Regions from separate parts of the Homo sapiens genome. Here region 2 is linked to region 1. The links are contacts of gene promoters, found by promoter capture Hi-C in blood cells and fetal thymus (Javierre and others, 2016). All regions are on one chromosome and are shown on one strand. Each heading gives the region's core, a stretch centred on a gene start or on the middle of the fragment in contact. The rest is flanking DNA. Distances are from core to core; before and after follow the strand shown. Region 1 holds the start of LINC01888 (long intergenic non-protein coding RNA 1888). Region 2 has its middle 14 kb from the start of BMP10.

What was found. Contacts are between HindIII fragments. The CHiCAGO score rates a contact against its expected background, and 5 or more counts as called.
Region 2: a fragment that was not itself captured here is called in contact with the fragment with the promoter of LINC01888 in region 1 in 1 of 17 cell types (naive CD4 T cells); the score reaches 5.4 in naive CD4 T cells.

What each region holds. Positions count from the first base shown.
Region 1 is chr2:68,829,865-68,834,196 of GRCh38, reverse strand. LINC01888 (long intergenic non-protein coding RNA 1888) reads right to left here and starts at 2,189. Exons shown (of 2, transcript NR_183895.1): 1 at 2,045-2,189. LINC01890 (long intergenic non-protein coding RNA 1890) reads left to right here. Exons shown (of 4, transcript NR_183884.1): 2 at 1,147-1,365; 3 at 2,692-2,837. RefSeq lists an enhancer at 4,279-4,332. The HindIII fragment of the contact is 9,437 bases long and covers 1,065-4,332 here.
Region 2 is chr2:68,883,405-68,887,736 of GRCh38, reverse strand. No RefSeq gene overlaps it. Among named protein-coding and RNA genes, the nearest start is that of BMP10, 14 kb to the right of the region's middle. The HindIII fragment of the contact is 3,782 bases long and covers 378-4,159 here.

The DNA.
Region 1 (4,332 bases), core at 940-3,439:
CAACTGACGTGACTGCTCTCTCCTTGGAAGGACGGCAGGAGCCATGGCGCTGTGAACTCAAACTTCAGGGAGCTTCAGACCCTCCTGCTTGTGACCATACCCATGCCTGGGCTCTTGACTATTTAAATGTGTTTTGAAAACAACTCTCATTATAGAAATGAAAAGCCTGAAGCTTTCTCAGCAAAAAAGGTTTAACTGATGATACTCTACAAAGAATAAATACATCAATCTAATTGAACCAACCAAACCAGTCAATTGTTCTAATAGAATAAATAGTATCAAATAGGTAGGAAGAATATGAGCCATATCTTATGGCTTATACTGGGTGGGGTGGCCCAGAGGTTAGGAGGTTTAACTGATGATACTCTACAAAAAATAAATAGATAAATCTAATTGAACGGACCAAACCAGACAATTTTTCTAATAGAGTAAATAGTATCAAATAGGAAGAATATGAACCATTATCTTCAATGTGAATGTGGACTAGTTATTACTTTTATGGTCATTACTTAGACACAGGTTGTTTCCTTTGACACTCAAGCCACTGTGGTTGGATGATCCAATACTAGAATCAGGTAGACGTGGTTTTGATGCTTGCTTCTGTCAGTTATATTTTCTCAGTTCTAAGTAGCCATCAATTTGTAAGATGTTCCATTTTAAATGCACCAATCAACTATAAAATACATACTGAATTTCAAAAGTATTAGAATGAAAAAAAAATGTCTCTTAGAAATGGGATATGAACTGTGAGCCTGAGCAGATTACTTAACCTTTCTAAGTCTCGGTTTTCTCATCTGTAAAATGGGGATGATAGTAGCCGCTGCCTCATAGTTTTCTGTGAAAATTAATTAATACATTGCAGGTAAAGCAGAAAACACCATGCTTAGGGAATTGAAAGCACTCAATATTTGCATTTTTAAAAACTATGTCTTTAGTCAAGCATAACTCTTTTAAAATGCCATTAACTATAGGAGGAAGAATCAGTGTTGTAACATTTTGCTATTCCTTGAGTACAATCTATGTGTACTAAGAAAAGACATCATTGGTAACACAACTACCAAGCTTATCTAGGGATCAGCTATCTCAAGATAGGCATAGCAATTGCTGGATGCCATATGATTTCCATGTATTTTATTTCTCCAATAGCACTCACATTCTTTGGGAGCTGTATTCTAATACTTTCAGAAAAGCCATGGGAACACACCAGAGTGACTGCTCGAGTAAATAAGTAGCATAAACAGCAAGCCAAACCATTGATGTACACATCACTGGGCCCAATACTATGAAATCCCACATAAGAAACTTGAAAGTGAAAGCTGGAATTCTGAGGATACTGGTTTTGCTTAATAAACAGCATTTCAACAGGTGAGTCAACTTAGTATTGCAGAGCGTGGTGTTGGCTTTTTTCTGATTGGGGCTAGTTTTTCATTAAAGGCAATATCTAGCACTGAAATAGACAACAGTACCTAGTCCCAACCACCTGCTTCCTGGTGAGTCAGTTCAAGTTCTCACAATTGTGTCTGTGTCCAGCCCCAGACCAGCTGAGCTGGGTCATGTGCTCACCCAGATCTTTCCCTAAAAGAGGACTGACAGGGAAACCACTGCCCTCTTTCACATCCAGGGAAGGAGTGACTTCTAAGAGAAATAGGGTTTTGTTTCCTCGCCAAAGTGTCAGGAATGATCAAATGTGAAAAACAGAGGGCAAATCCGTGTTAGTGCGTCATTAGGTGGGTGTTTCTAAAGTGATCACATGGTAACACTTCCTCTGCTCGCTGACCCACCAGGAGTGTTTTGGAAACAGTCAGCCCACGTGAAATGGGCTGAAGACATCCCAGTGTCCTCCTCTCAGAAGCTGTGAGCCCCAGTCAGGGCGGGCTGTCTTAGCCTGTAAACGTCCACAGGGCCAGAGCCTATATTTAACTGATGACACATCTTACAAGGGGGAAGGGAAGGGGAATCTGTGACCCTGTTTCCTCCCACCAACACCAGCCCATTCACACAGAGTCTTTTGAAGGTCTCACTGGCAGTACTCCTTCAAACTTACCCAATATGCCCCACTCAAAGGCCCTCCCAGGCTTGTGGGAACAGAAAGATTTCTTGAAATGGAAAGGAGGGTTGTGAATGAGTGAGGAAATTCAGCATGGAGATATGAGAGGCTCACTCTTTAGCCACACGGAACCGGGGACTCCAAGGCAACCCCATTCCCAGAGTTCTTTCGAGGGTGGGGCTAATGACATGGGACCAAGAATTGACTCCAGGAAAGGGCATGGTGATGTGTGGCCTCCCAGACAGCCTCAGAGCAAGCAGGTGGATTTGACTTAGGCTGTGGGGAAGGCAACAGCCTCTGTATATTTTTCCATCTTGATGCTGAGTCAGACAAGGCAGTTAGTGGTTCTTTCCAGAATCCCTGCCAGCCTTTTAAAGAAAAAGTCTTTGCAGATTTTGCTTTAGTCCATCTCTGCCAAGGGGTCATTTTCTATGTTGTACTTCCTCCCTATGTGAGGGCAAGGATAATGTAGCCTTGTGTAGACTGTATATACGCTTCAGTTCCTAGCTAAGCCACATTGAGACCTCAGTAAAACAGGTTTGATTGCAATCAGAAAAGAGTTGATTTGAGATTTAAAGGAAATGACATGGATACAGTGCTCACCAGAAAGTATTAAAATGGTATTTGTTGCTTATTATTGGTAGTTATTGTCATGATATTGCTACTGATGCTGAACAAAGACCCAAGAACCAGGGTGATGTTTAGCATGGGCTGGCCTCAGCAGGACTGAAAGGACATCAATAAGGGAGAACAGAGAGAAGGAAGGAGGACAAGTGCCAACTTTGAGCAGGTATCAGGTGTATGTGGGGGCAAACCATTTCTCCGTCCACCCTGATGATGAGTCCCCGTTTCCCTTTTTAAGGCCTGATTTTTGCACCCTCACCCCACCTAAGGCAGCCAGGGGCCCACACTGCAATACTCCTAGGTAACATCCATACTTTTTTTTTTTTTTTGAGATAGAGTCTCCCACTGTCACCCAGGTTGGAGTGCAATGGCGAGATCTCGGCTCACTGCAACCTCCGCCTCTCAGGTTCACGTGATTCTCCTGCCTCAGCCTCCAGAGTAGCTGGGATTACAGGCGCACACCACCATACCCGGCTAATTTTTTGTATTTTTGGTAGAGACAGGGTTTCACTATGTTGGCCAGACTGGCGTCGAACTCCTGACCTCGTGATCTGCCCGCCTCGGCCTCCCAAAGTGCTGGGATTACAGGCGTGAGCCACTGTGCCTGGCCAACATCCATACTCTTGATCTGTTCCTCCACCCACAGCACTGCTTATCTGGCCAGGCTCTCGTTCCTTCATTACACAGCTTTCTGCTGGGAAGCAGATAACTAATATAAAGATGATACTAACGATTAATGGAGGCTTCATGGAGTCTCCCAGAAATATCACGTTTGTGGTTAATATTCCAAAGGCTACTGGTAGGGATTTCTCAATCTAACATGAGTCTGAAAAAGAGATGATTTTCATCAGAGCTATTCTCGGGACTCTTTAAATCAGGCCCTCAAGTGCTTATCTTCTTTGCCTATGTTTAGAGTCAATCCTTAAAGCAAGTAAACAGTGTCCCCATATATTTAGGAATTCTCAAAATCCTTGGATTTGTTCATACTAAGCTACTGTTATACTCATTTTTTAAAAAAATTTTGGGCTCACTTTTCACCATCTGCATAATGGGCATATAACATAAATCCATTCTGTATCACTTAATCATGTCTTATCCTAGATGAATAAACACATGAAAAATCAGCCTGTAAATCAGAGAATGTAGCTGTGTTAACTGGAGATGGGAAAGGGGAGCAGGTAGAATTAATATTACCATTAGTCATGACTAAAGCCAAACTTAGCAGTTTTAAAACTATTTAACCATCCTGATTGTATATTGGAATCAACTGGGAATTTTTCTTTTAACTACCAATTCTTAGGCCCCATCCCGAAAGATTCTGATTCAATTGATATGAAGTAAGATCTGAGCATCAGAATTTTTGTTTACAGTTCCTAAGGTAATTCTCTTGTGCCACCAAGACTGAGAACCAGTGTTTTAAAATAGTATTGGGAATACACAGTAGGTGAAAAACTGGCATCATATTAGGTGGGTCTTGGTTGTGATCATGAGCTGAGGAGAGCTCTATATTCTGGAAGCACTCAGCAACGGATGTTCAATGGGGTTCACACCATGGTTGCAGTTTGGGGGAAAGAACCCTTGGAGAGAAAGCAAGAACCACAAGAATCACTGAATCATGGGTTAGAGGAGCCCTCCAAAATCACCTCCTTCAATCCTCTTCC
Region 2 (4,332 bases), core at 1,019-3,518, 53 kb before region 1:
TGCAACCATCATCATAGTCAATTTTAGAACATTTTCATTACTACAAAAAGAAACCTCATACCACTTAGCAATCAACCCCTGTCCCACCTCCCCCTCCAGCATCCCGCTGGCAACCTCCAATCTACTTTTGGTCTCTATAGATTTGCAAACGTTCTCCTAATTTATGTTTTACATTCAAATTTACAGCAATCAAGTTTGGTTTTCAGTAGACTTTGCCAGAGAGCCCATCCAATGATCATGCACCAAAACGACTATCACGTCACTATCTTTTCTGGACCAAAACCAGGGAGCAGAGTCACATCTACAATTAAGGGTGGTTTTCAGACCTGGTAGTAATGCTGCTTAGTGTATGGGTTGAAGTATGGGGATCCCAAGCTTCCTTTCACTTCTGATGGTGCTCTCATCCCTAACTGGAAAGAGAGCTTTGTACCTTCTAGCTCCTTTTATTTCTAATCTGAGATATCTTTTCATCTTTTGAAGAGAGGCAGAGATATAAATGAAACCCTCACCCTTAACCATTGTCATGTTATGATTTTCACAGCCTTGTTTTTCATCAAGAATCACTGATTTGAAGTCAGATGGTTTGTATATGACAGATCTAGTTCCCAAACTCAACCAGGCCAGCTCATAAATATTTACTATTCATGTTTTTAAAGTGATTGTGTCAACTTGCTCTTAGGTATCAGAAATGAAATTTTATGGCCAATGAAAATCAAGTGATTAAAAATAGTTGCCTATTTCCTAAAGTCCAAATATCTCAAACATATGAATTCATTATTCTAATATTCATTTACCATCTTCTATGTAGAGAGCCTCAAGTTTAGTGCTCAATTACACAAAGTATAATCCTGGCTTTCATAAACTTATAATGTGGAGGCTTGGTTCCAGTCTTTGGACACCATGGTTCTTTTCTCATTTACACTATAAAGAAGATTTATGATGACAACCAACATAAACCCATCTAGAAAACAAAGCATATATTAAGTTGATCCATGTGAAGTTATCAATATTCTACCATTTTTGACATCCAAAAGTTTCAGTCCAATAAAAAAACTTGCACTAAATAATGATAGCAATTGCTTACAATTTATCAGCAATTGGACCTAAAATATGTTATAATCACTATTTGATTTGGTCTCACAACAATCCCATGAGGTAGGAAATATTCTGATCTCCATTTTTTGGAAAACAGAGTCTCAGAAAGATTCAGTCATCTGTTTGAGTTGATATTGTCAATAAGTGGTCTTATTGTGTGATACATCAAAAGGTTTGTGTGATGCAAAAATACTGTGCTCTTAAATATTGTATTAAATAAAACATTAAAGGAGTTGGAGAGAAAATAAGGGCTACAAAGAAGTCCTTATTCAAGTTTCTAGCACAGAGTGTATGCTTAATAAGTGTTAGCAGAATACATGAGCAAGAAAGCAGAGAAAGGAATGGTTAATGCTAATAAAAGCCCAAGGAAATCCTTTCCATATCTTTTCTTGTATTCCAAAGGGTACAGAACAATCTTCCTCAAGCAGTAACATCTCCCAGCAGGCCCCATCTCCACCCCTTTTGTCAGTTATCTCTGATTCCTGTCAAGAATCTTCAACCTGTTGGACAAGAATCTCATTTCCACATTAAGCTCCTGTCTTTCCAATGGTGGCCCAAACAAGTCCTAGATTTCCAATCATAAACCAATTAGGAGATAAGATATAAACTCATGAAAATTGAATAGCAATATGAAACATCAGGAGAAGACATGTATATGAAATATGAGTGGGTCCTGCCCTAATACACTCCCGTCAGAATGCTATTGTGTCGGTGATTCAGGCTGTCTTTGGGCAGAGGCAATCTGCCTGGTAGGATGCCTCTGAATTTACTAACAATCACCAACTGGGAAAATGCCAACGTGTGAACCACTTGATTCCATCTTGTGATGAATACTCCTCCCCAAAGTTCTGTCATTGTAATCTGCCACCCTGCAAATTTTGCTTGCAAAATGTGTGCTGGCAGCGGCTTCTGCAGCTATTTCAGTATCCTGACATCTGTCGATGCTCTTTGGGCAATGGAATGATACAAGTCGTTCTCATAAGTCATTGGTATCAAAGAGCAATGCTAAGTTTTTACAAAACATTTTGGGAAGAGCATCATGAAGATGCCCATAAATGCTATCGGGCACTGCCTGCAGCATGAGCAGACCATTCGGTGAGAGGCGAGATATAGAGGAGCGTGACAGGGGATGAGCATGTGCAGCATGACTAAAATTAGTTTCCAATCTGAGATCTTCATTTCTGCCATCTCTGGAACAGCCATCATCATCCACATTTTTCCCCATACATGGCCCATTCCAAAATAATCCTCATTCAGAGGTCTAAATGTCAACTGCTCTGAAAAAAGGTTCTGAAATGATGATGATGAATAAATGTGTAACATTTCAAGCAGATACTCTGTGGAATCTTATCACCACTGCCAGAAAGCAGCTAGCAAGGGAACCATGGCCATATACTGAAGCAAGGCCTGGTTTCTGGCCTTGTAAAGCGATGTCTCGAATATGTATCTGCAGGTTGATACCTCATCTCATTGACAGCTTTCCATCCTGACCTGAAGTTCTCCAGCTTTCCCAGTGTTGCATGTAGGCAGCCCCATTCCCTGGGACGGTCAGAGACTGGACTGTTTAACCCAAGGGGAAATACTCTGTCCTGGAGTCACAGAGCACAAAGCTCTTCATCTGTTATACAGACCCAAGGATTTCCCCCAAAGTTCTACCACAGAAAGGCAAGGATTTCCCCCAAAATTCTACTGCAGACAAGAGAAGTCATTTTATATTTAAGGTCTTACAAAGTCTTATGTTACAATTACAAGAGGATAAAGTCTAGAAGCTAAACTAAATGACTGAAAAAATGGCTCAAATGATGACACTCTTGAGATTCACTTGGAGAGTTTAAAGGCAATTTTAAAAGAAAATGTGAAAGTGGAAAAATTCTAGTTTTTTATTTTATTTTATATAACATTAAAAATATATATGTAGTAAAATTATTAAATAAAATAGGTAAACGTTTGACTCTTCCATCTACATCCTTAAAAGGCATATATACAAAATTCCCCCAAAATCTATCTCTTTTTGAATTTTTTATTTGGGAAATGAGGGAATCATCTTATTTGGCGGTATATATGGAACTTAAGAAATATTTGTGGAGTAGTATAGGGAAGAGTCAGGTGTCATTAATATGAGAGAGATTGGGTGTTTGGGTGTCTCATTTTGCCTATTGATTTTAATTTTAAAAATACTGTCAGCAAAAATTCTATAGAATATTAAAATCTGCATTGTCTCTGAAATTACTAAAACCATTAACAAACCTACTAAGTTTAATGTACTGATGCTACCCAGCATGTTTTCCACTTGAAAATAATCCCTTGCCTATTTCCTCATTCGCTTTACCTTAGACCTAGTTTAATTGTGAGACCTCAGCCCCAATTCTCATGACAACTGGAAGGGGTATTTGACAAGGTTGTTATCTGGGAAGAATCATTTCACCATTTGGGGTTTTGGTTTCCCAATTTATATAAAGGATGATTTTCGCCTGCCTCACCTATTCTTTTAATTACTGTGAGGGTCAGATGGCATGAACATAAACTCTTCAAAGAGTAGTGTACTAACCAAGATTTCTTTCCATATGTGTGTGTGTGTGTGTATAATATATACATATATATATTAAACATATAAAACATGTAACATATATTTTAAGTTAACAACCTGAAGCACTCCAAGCATATATTTAGAAAGGGAGGGAGGGAAGGTGGAAGGAAGAACATAAGGGAAGAAAGGAGAAAGAAAAGGAGAAAGGAAAGAAGAATAGGAGGAAGAGAAGACATAGCAAATAAACTATTCATAATCCCATATTATCAAGGTTGTAAATTCCCATACTCTTTCTCCTTTACTTTGTCTCTGTTGAGTATGGTCATTTCATTCACATCCACATATCCGTGAGAGGACAGGCTGCAGGATATCTCAGATTTCTCCTGCTTTTGCAAGCTGCAGTTTTTTGTTAACCTTATTTTATACTGTTTTCCTTTGGCAAACACAGGTGCAAAAGGAATGGGGATTTAGTTGGAGTTCAGGATTCGACCTTCTCTTCTAGAGTGTATTCTTTTTCTTTAGAAAATATAATAAGCTTTATTTATAATATTTAATAATGATATTTAAATGATGTTTACAATTTCTATATAAACTCTTGGATACTCAGCATGTTTCAAATATACAACCTTAATTGATACTCAGCAATCTCTGTTAGTTTCTAGCTGTTATATTCCATAGTGGCATTGGTATTGTATGCTTCTACCTCATTG